Regions from separate parts of the Homo sapiens genome. Here region 1 is linked to region 2. Evidence: promoter capture Hi-C in human tissues and cell types (Jung and others, 2019). All regions are on one chromosome and are shown on one strand. The core of a region is centred on a gene start or on the middle of the fragment in contact, and the rest is flanking DNA. Distances in the headings are between cores, read along the strand shown.

What was found. The method cuts DNA at HindIII sites, captures the fragments that hold promoters and counts their contacts. A contact is called where the count stands out against the background at its distance.
Region 1: a contact is called between a fragment that was not itself captured here and the fragment with the promoter of MYH7 in region 2, in 4 of the 25 tissues and cell types used here (aorta, liver, lymphoblastoid cells and 1 more).

Annotation. Positions count from the first base shown.
Region 1 is chr14:23,496,388-23,501,222 of GRCh38, forward strand. No RefSeq gene overlaps it. Among named protein-coding and RNA genes, the nearest start is that of NGDN, 29 kb to the left of the region's middle. The HindIII fragment of the contact is 8,706 bases long and covers 1-4,835 here.
Region 2 is chr14:23,434,275-23,439,095 of GRCh38, forward strand. MYH7 (myosin heavy chain 7) reads right to left here and starts at 1,386. Exons shown (of 40, transcript NM_000257.4): 1 at 1,346-1,386. RefSeq lists enhancers at 1,246-2,083, 3,104-4,731, 3,861-4,361. The HindIII fragment of the contact is 9,172 bases long and covers 1-4,199 here.

The DNA of each region.
Region 1 (4,835 bases), core at 121-2,620, 62 kb after region 2:
TGCAGATGAAGTAACTGAGACCTACAAAGGTTATATTTTGAGCTGATCTTGTCTTTGTTTCAGAGAATGATCTTTACTCAAATGTCCCCTTCTCTATGACCGCTCTATTTAAAATGGCCCTATCTTTCCCTCTATACAAACCCCTGTCCCCCTTCCCTGCTTTATTTTTCTCTGTGGCATTTGCAACATCTAACATACTACATATACTTAGAGATGGCTTATCTACTGAACATTGCCTTATGGTACAATTTCTGCTGGCATTTCAAGAGCAGAGGAATGTCGTGGCTAGAGTGAGCCTTGGACATTATGCATCTTGGGTCTTGCCTTCTGGCTAAAAAGGGATCCTGCCAAGTGGAAGGATCTTGGTAGTCTGTTTAGCTGGGCTCAGCTTCAAGGTCAAGGATAAAACTGGTAGTAAATAATATTCGGAAGAAGAAATCTGGGAAATAGGACTATTGTGTTCCTTTGTTCCTGAGCTTGTCACAGGCACTGTCCTGTTGGGGAAAGCCAAGAGGGTTCAGAGGGCTCAGGTTCCCTAGAGTGAATTCCTTGTAGATTGGTCCAGTTACTAATGAGGTTACTATATTAAAAATTCAGATTTATGGTGGCTCACACCTGTAATCCCACCACTTTGGGAGGCCGAGGTGGGCGGATCACTTGAGGTCAGGAGTTCGAGATCAGTCTGGCCAACATAGTGAAACCCCGTCTCTACTAAAAATAAAAAAACTTAGCCGGGCATGGTGGCGCATGGCTGTAGTCCCAGCAGCTGAGGAGGCCGAGGCAGGAGAATGGCTTGAACCCAGGAGATGGAGGTTGCAGTGAGCTCAGATCATACCACTGCACTCCAGCCTGGGCAACGGAGTGAGACTCCATCTCCAAAAAAAAAACCACTCAGATTTATGCAAAATTTAATGATTAGTGAAAACGGTTTTACTTACAAAAAGATTTGGGACATTTATGTGCTATAGATGACAAAACCCTGGACTAAGACTTAGCAGTTCTGGCCTGGGTGCAGTAACTCATACCTGTAATCCCAGCACTTTGGGAGGCTGAGGTGGGTGGATTGCCTGAGCCTAGGAGTTTGAGACCAGCCTGGGCAACATGGCAAAACCCTGTCTCTAAAACAAATACAAAAATTAGCTGGTTGTGGTAGCGCACGCCTATAGTCCTAGCTACTCAGGAAGCGGAGGTGGGAGGATCCCCTGAGCCTGGGAGGTCGAGGCTGCAGTAAGTCATGACTGTGCCACTGCACAACAGCCTGGGTGACAGAGTGAGACCCTGTCTCAAAACAAACAAACAGGGCTGGGCGCGGTGGCTCACACCTGTAACCCCAGCACTTTGGGAGGCTGAGGCGGGTGGATCACCTGAGGTCAGGAGTTCGAGACCAGCCTCAACATGGAGAAACCCCATCTCTACTAAAAATACAAAATTAGCAGGGCGTAGTGGTGCATGCCTGTAATCTCAGCTACTCGGGAGGCTGAGGCAGGAGAATTTTTTGAACCTGGGAGGTGGAGGTTGCGGTGAGCCGAGATCGGGCCATTGCACTCCAGCCTGGGCAACAAGAGCGAAACTCCGTCTAAAAACAAACAAACAAATAAACAAAAGACTTAGCTCTGCATTCCAATCTTGGCTCTGCAGCTAATTTCTGTGTGGCCTTTGGTAAGGCACTTAACTTCTCTGAAGTTGGGTTTCACTATTTCTTCCTAAGTTGCGATCTCTCTAGTTTGATCATATGAGATCTTAGGTTTAAAATTTTTTTTTTTTTTTTTTTTTGAGTTGGAGTTTCACTCTTGTTGCCCAGGTTGGAGTGTGGCGCAATCTCGGCTCACCGCAACCTCCGCCTCCCAGGTTCAAGCAATTCTCCTGCCTCACCCTCCCTAGTAGCTGGGATTACAGGCATGTGCCACCATGCCTGGCTAATTTTGTATTTTTAGTAGTGACGGGGGTTTCTCCATGTTGGTCAGGCTAGTCTCGAACTCCTGACCTCATGTGATCCACCTGCTGTGGCCTCCCAAAGTGCTGAGATTACAGGCGTGAGCCACCGTGCCCTGACAGGTTTAAAGTTTTTAATGCTAGGCCAGGTGTGGTGGCTCACGCCTGTAATCCCCAACAGTTTGGGAGGCCTAGGTGGGTGGATCACCTGAGGATAGGAGTTCAGACCAGCCTGGCCAACATAGTGAAACCCCGTCTCTACTAAAAATACAAAAATTAGCCTGGCGCGGTGGTGTGTGCCTATAGTCCCAGCTACTCGGGAGGCTGAGGCAGGAGAATGGCGTGAACACAGGAGGCGGAGGTTGCAGTGAGCCGAGATTGCGCCACTGCACTCCAGCCTGGGCGACAGAGCGAGACTCTGTCTCAAAAAAAATAAAAATAAAAATAAGTAAAAGTTTTTAAAACTTATAAAGGAAAGAAGGATATGAATATGTGTTAGCATTTATTGGGTGACTCCTAAATGCCAACCACAGGATAAGGGGTTTTTCTTAGGAAAACTAGCTCATTTAATCTTTACAGTCACTGGGGCATTTTGCAACCATCTTACAGATGAGGAAACTGAGGCTTTTGGAGATTTTTTCCTTAGAGAGTGAAAAAATTTTCCAGGGTTCCAGATTTATTACAAGAGCTCCTTTCTCAGATGTGGATCTTGGTCCTCAGGATGCTGCCTAGCTGCCCCCTTGGAATACTGCTGTTGCTGTACTGGCATGCTTCTTTGCTGAGCTTCAGCATGAGAATATAAATAGTTTTTCTTGGCTGGGTGCGGTGGCTCACGCCTGTAATCCTAGCACTTCGGGAGGCCGAGGCGGGTGGATCACGAGGTCGGGAGATTGAGACCATCCTGGCTAACATGGTGAAACCCCATCTCTACTAAAAATGCAAAAAATTAGCCGGGCGTGGTGGCAGGCACCTGTAGTCCCAGCTACTCGGGAGGCTGAGGCAGGAGAATGGCGTGAACCCGGGAGGCGGAGCTTGCAGTGAGCGGAGATCGTGCCACTATACTCCAGCCTGGGTGACAGAGCAAGACTGTCTCAAAAAAAATAAATAAATACAATAAAGAAATAAATAAAATAGTTTTTCTCATTCAGCGGTGTTAAAATGGGAATCATCAAACAAAACAGTCCTAAGCAGTGTTCTATGGCAATAGCCTGAATGGGACAGATTAGCAAGGCCACAAGATCTTTGGCTTTGCCCAAACCCAGTGGACCTCACCATTTGACCTGTTGAACTTTTCTTCTTGAAACTCTTCTTCCTTGGTTTCTGTGATGTACACTCCCATTGGTCTTTGCATCTCCCTGTTCCTTCTTGGTCTCTTTGGCTTCAGAGCCTTCTCTCACCCCTTAGACATCTTAAGAGTCTGTCCTCTTCTCTGCTTCTCACGCAGCATTTTCTCACTGGGTCATGTCATTCACTCCCATGGTTTCAACTACATCAATTTCCTAATAATTCCTAAGTCTCTATCTTCAGCTTCTAACTCCTGTATTCATTATTTGATGGGTACTTTCACCTGGATGATCTAAACAAACTTTAGTTTAATTTTTTTTGTATTTCAATAGTTTTTGGGGAACAGGTGGTGTTTGGTTACATGATTAAGTTCTTTAGTGGTGATGTCTGAGATTTTGGTGCACCCATCACCAAGCAGTGTACACTGCAACCAATGTGTAGTCTTTTATCACTCAACCCCCGCAACCCTTCCCCTCAAGTCCCCAAGGCTCATTGTATCATTCTTATATCTTTGATTCCTTATAGTTTAGCTCCCACTTATAAGTGAGCATATACAATGTTTAGTTTTCCATTCCTGAGTTACTTCACTTAGAATAATGGTCTCCAACTCCATCCAGGTTGCTGCAAATGCCATTATTTGGTTCCTTTTTATGGCTGAGTAGTATTCCATGGTAGATATGCACCACATTTTCTTTGCCCACTCATTGATTGATTGATGGGCATTTGGCCTGGTTCTGTATTTCTGCAATTGCGAATTGTGCTGCTATAAACATGCATGTGCAAGTGTCTTTTTCATATAATTACTTCTTTTCCTTTGGGTAGATACCCAATAGTGGGATTGCTGGATCAAATGGTAGTTCTACTTTTAATTCTTTAAGGAGTCTCCACACTGTTTCCCATAGTGGTTGTACTAGTTCACATTCCCACCAGCAGTGTAAAAGTGTTTCCTTTTTACTGCATCCACACCAACATCTATTATATTTTGATTTTTTAAATTATGGCCATTGTTGCAGGAATAAGGTGGTATCACATTGTGGTTTTGATTTGCATTTTCCTGATAATTAGTGATGTTGGGCATTTTTTCGTATGTTTGGTAATTTGTAGATCTTCTTTTGGGAATTATCTGTTCATGTCCTTAGCCCACTTTTTAATGGGATTATTTGTTTTTTTCTTGTTGATTTGTTTTGAGTTCCTTGTAGATTCTGGATATTAGTTCTTTGTCGATGCATAGTTTGCAAAAATTTTCTCCCACTCTGTGGGTTGTCTGTTTACTCTGCTGATTATTTCTTTTGCTGTGCAGAACATTTTTAGTTTAATTAAGTCCCATCTATTTATCTTTGTTTTTGTTGCATTTGCTTTTGGGTTCTTGGCCATGAACTCTTCGCCTAAGCCAATGTCTGGAATTGTTTCTGATGTTATCTTCTAACATTTGCACGGTTTTAGGTCTTAGATTTAGGTCTTTGATCCATCTTGAGTTGAATTTTATAAAGGTGAAAGATGAGGATCTGGTTTCATTCTTCTACATGTGCCTTGCCAAGTATCCCCGCAGCATTTGTTGAAAAGGGGTGTCTTTTCCCCACTTTATGTTTTTGTTTTTGTTTTGAGACGAGTCTCGCTCT
Region 2 (4,821 bases), core at 136-2,635:
AGGGCAGGCTGTGCCCAACCTGACCAGTCCCACCTTCCTGCTTCTCCCTGGCTCTGTTCTTCAGCATCCACCCTCTTCCAAAACAAGGTGGAAAGGGTGGTCAGCTTCTCTGGTCCCATCCTTCTTGTTTTTCAAACCCTATTCCCTTTTTCCTCAAGAACTAGTTCTAACAGCTTCCTGGTGTCAACTCAACCTGAACCCTAATCCTCTTCACTCCTGCGAGATGGTCCCACCCCTGCCTGTACCCATCTAGTGGTACCTTTCTTTGAGCCATCTGAGAGACAACTAATGGTCACATTTGTTCGGCACTTTCCAGTCTAAAAGCACTTCAATGCACTTTCTCCTACTCAGTCTTCACCCCATTTGACAGATGAGGAAATCGAGGTTAAATGGCTTGCTTGGCCAAGAGCCCATGACAACAAGTGGGAGAGCCAAGACTTGAATGCAAGTCTGATGACTCTAAAGAGACTTCTTTTCCATCCTGTCCCCATTTTGTTGTCAGACTTTGTGGACATTCTCAGAGAGAAGACACTGTGGGCTTCCTCTCACAGACACACCCATCACATAGCCAAACACCCTCCACAAGCCCTCTGATGAACACTCATGCCTGCTGCTTGGGCATGCCTCTCACATGAAGACAGGCTTCCTTCCCATACCTCAATCCGCACCCCAACCCCAGGGTGCCATATATGCCTCAACAGCAAATGTGCACATTTCAGGATGTGTGCCACGTAAGTAGATCACATCACTGCGTGTTCTTCAGTACACAAAGACCTGGAACATCCTACACCCCCGTGCCTGTGAGTTCCTTCTGCAGAGGGTACAGATACTATAACAGTCATGACTCGTGGAGGCATAGACAAGAACCTCTGCATGCATGGACAGGGGTAGCTACACATTCCAGGCCTCACAGAATCACATGAAGGCATACACACTTCCTAGAATCCTTCTCCACCATTCTTTCTCCCTCCCTGCAAAGGAACCTCCTCGTTCACAGACGTGATCATACACCCACATCTCCCACTTGATATTTCTGTATCAGTCAGTGAGGTACATACCCTTTCTCACATTCAGACTATGCAGGCTTGTCCACACACACACACACACACACACACACACACACACCCTGTAATGCATATTGGTCCCATATGCTCAGATGCAGATATCTTCCCCTAGGAACTCCTGTGGCACATACGCCCATGTTTAGACCTGCACATGTGTGCCCAGTGACTGGACCTGGTACTCTGCATGAAGTCCTGCATGAAGCTTGCTATTCCAAGAGGAATCCCTTCCTAAGCCTGGAGCCCCCTTATCCCAGAGTAAAGCCTCCAGCTCCCGCTCCTACCTGAGAGCAGCAGGGAAAGACACAGAGCAGGACAGAGCTGTGGAGCCAGACCTGGTCTCAGGGGCTGTATATATGGGGCAGCAGGGCACCCCCACCCCCAACGGCACCCAGTCCCTAGCCGGATTTAGAAAGGGCTGTTGTCACTAGAAGCATTTCCCCCAGGCTCCCCCCCTTCCCAAACAGTGCTCCCCTCCCCGCCTCTCCAGCTAGGAAACAATTGGAAGTGGTCGTCATTGTTATGGCATGGACTGTGCAGGGTCTGAGTTCCAGGGGGCGGGGTGGCTCAAAGTGCAGCAAAAATATCTCCCAGGCCAGGCCTCACATTCCACAGCTGGCAGGAGAGGGAACTGACCACGACCACCAAGACCACAGGCAGCCAATGTCCTGGCTCTCCCGCAGGGCACTTCTGGCCCTGGACACTGCTCCCCCTCCAGTCCCCTGCTGCGAGGCCCCTGATGGCCTGGCCGCATTTCCACAGTGTCCTCCCTGCTCTCCTGGCCCAGGTCCTGTATCCAACTGGAAGCTGGGAAGGGGCTGAGTGTCAGCAGCAGAGAAGGGTAGGACAGAGTTGGGGGCATGGCCCCAGGGTGAGGCAGCTAGACTGGGGCAGCTGGAAGGACATTTCCTAGCCAGGTGGCAAGAACAATAACCATGGAGCTTAGAGATGGGGACTCTGGCTCAGGCACTGATTTCCTTGGACCAGCAGGCAATGTGTTGAGGTCACCAAGCCTCCGAGCCAGACAGGCCTTTAGCAATCCATCCAAGCACTTCATTTAATGGAGAGGGACAGTGCATTCTTTAAGGTTATACAGCTAATCGGGGCAGCAGGATTCAAGGTGGGAAACCTCAGCAGATGGGAGTGGAGCCCGGCCTGTGGAGGGTAGCCTGGAAAGGTGGGCTGGGATTCCAAAGATGTGGGGACCCCCTATGCGCAGAGAGCAGGACCCAGCTGCATTGGTCCTAGTTTGGAGCGGTTTGCCTGACTCACGTTCCTGGCTCTGCCCCACAGGTACTAAAGGCCTGAGCCCAGAGACAGACCCTCTCAGAGCTATAGATAATACAACTACTTGGAGCTGGAAGGAGACCCCTAAGACAGCTGTTGTCTGGCCCACCCAGCCTCAGCTTTATCCAGAGCTGGAGGCGACTAGTGTTCTGGCAAGTGAGGCAGAGTAACAGGACAGGAAAAATCTTCCCCTCTGCAGGCCTGAGGAACAGCCACAAAGGAGGGGAGGAAAGGGAGCTGGGGCCCAGCCTACGAGCACAGAACACAACCGATGCCATGCTCTTCTAGCAACGGGGCATGCAAGCTTGACTGGCTCCGTGTCTAGGCAACCACTGCACGATTTGGTGTGAAATCTCCCCCTTCTTCCCAAGCACAGCTCTTCCGCGCATGCGGATTAGTCCATCTGATTAGCTGTCAGCTTGGAAGGAGTGAGGCAGGCCTGGGGGATGGGTGCAGCAGGTACATTTTGAAGGTGGGGTGGGCATAGCAGGGAAGGGAAAATCCAGGAGGAGGCCTCTGTGGGGGTTGCTTGGTAACCAAGGCACTAAGGTACAGTCTGAGGACATTGAGCAGCTATAAGGGGGGTGCAGGCAAGTGGGGGTAGACCACGAACTGCAAGGGCTGTGTCTGACAACACCGCAGCTCTGCAGTGCTAAGGTATACAGTTGCTGAGGTTATCCCAGTAGTCTGTGCTACTAACATGCCCGGCAGAACAGACTCTGGCAGTCCCCCCCAGGCCCTGCCAGGTGCTGAGGAATCAGCCCCATTGACAGAGACAGACCCTCTCAAAGCTATAGATAATACAGCTGCTTGGAGCTGGAAGGAAACCCCTAAGACAGCTGTTGTCTGAGGTTCCCTGTAGGAACCTCAAGGATTGGCGATGAGGGGCAAAAACTCCTTTCGTCCCCACCTTCCAGCTTTCCAAGCTCCAAACTGCCACCCCTCCCTGATTTCCCAGGGCAATTAAGATGCACAAAGGGTGCTTGGGACGTAGTTGAGCCATTTCAAAGCCAGTGTCTTCACCACAGGCCAGCGTCCTTCCTTGGCTGGGGACTTGGGTAGTCTTTTCTGCATTTGGGAAATCAATCACACTTTGTTTCTCTCCTTTCGGGTTTGGGAGGCTCTGGTCTGTTGGTGTTTGGGTGTTACTGTTCTCCACCCATGCCCCCTCTCATTGCAGATAGAACTCACCTCCCTAACTAGGCTTTGCCTCACAGCTCAGACAGATCAGAGGGCCTGCTGTCCTTAAAGATCCCCACTCACTCCCTAGCTCCTCCAGCACCTGCTCTTGGTTACATCATGATTCTCTTCCTGCTGCTTGCTGCTGTCTGAAGACTGAGCAGCTTTGCAGATTCCTCCATTCAACAAGTATTTATTGAGTGCCTACTATGTGCCAGGCATTATTCTGGTCAATAAGGACATAACAATGACCCAAAGAAAGATCCCTGCTCTGGACTGCTTTAGTCAACTGTTTGTAGAAATGGCATCCAGGCCTACCCTTTGCACACATGCACATTCCTTGTGGGGAGAGTGAGGGGCCAGGGGCCCCACCATGCTGGGGTGGGTGGGGATTGTGCAGAGTGTGCTACAAAGTGATAGCAAGATAAAGGAGAGCAAAGCAAAATGCTATAAATAAAGAGAGGCTGGAAGGAGGGCCGCTTCGGCAAGGTAGACCAAATAAGGCCTGAAGTGAAAGGAAGGTGATCTGTCCCCCGTCCTCCCCTCCCCGCATTGTGCCGGCTTTGTCTGCACTCTGTCACCACCCTGATCAAGTGTCAAGCCAAAACAGGGGCCATTTGCTGTGAACACGCCAGCGGTAGTTCAGAGGAAAAGTTGCTAAAATTACTCCCAGTAATTGTGAGGGAGGGAGACACCAGGGCGAATTAGAAGCGATGTCAGCATGGAGAGAGGGGAATCAGAAAAAAGCTCCGGTACCCAAAGGGAAGGAAGAAACGGGGCAGGAAGAGGCAGGGCACTTGGTGCAGGGGAGGAATGAGGCACTCGTTGTTTGTGCACAGGGCAGAGGGGAGCCACCCAGGAGTGGAGGCTGACTCTCCCATCCGCCTGCCCCCAGAATCCCTGACCTTGGGGGGACCCTGCCCTGGCTCCACACGAGCCTAGGATTAGGGAGCTGAGCTTTCTGCCTGTCTCAGATTTCCCTTTACAAACAGCTGCTCCTTCTTGTCATTCTTTTGTCTTCCTGCTGGCTTCAAAATCTTTTGTACTTGTGCACCCCCTCTCATTCCCTACTCTAGGTCTCTGCTTTCTGATGGATGTGAACAAAGAGAGAGATGGAGGGCCGGAGACAGGCTTGGGGCTGGCCTAGTTCACTTTGGGGTAGTTAGGGCAGGTTGATCTTGCCTTCAGGGAGTGTTTGGAGGGACACAACTCACCAAAAGGGAGACTTTGTGGGGAGTGACCGGTCTGGAGGGCCAGAGGCCTCAGAAGCATACAGGATGAGCAGTCTGGTCAG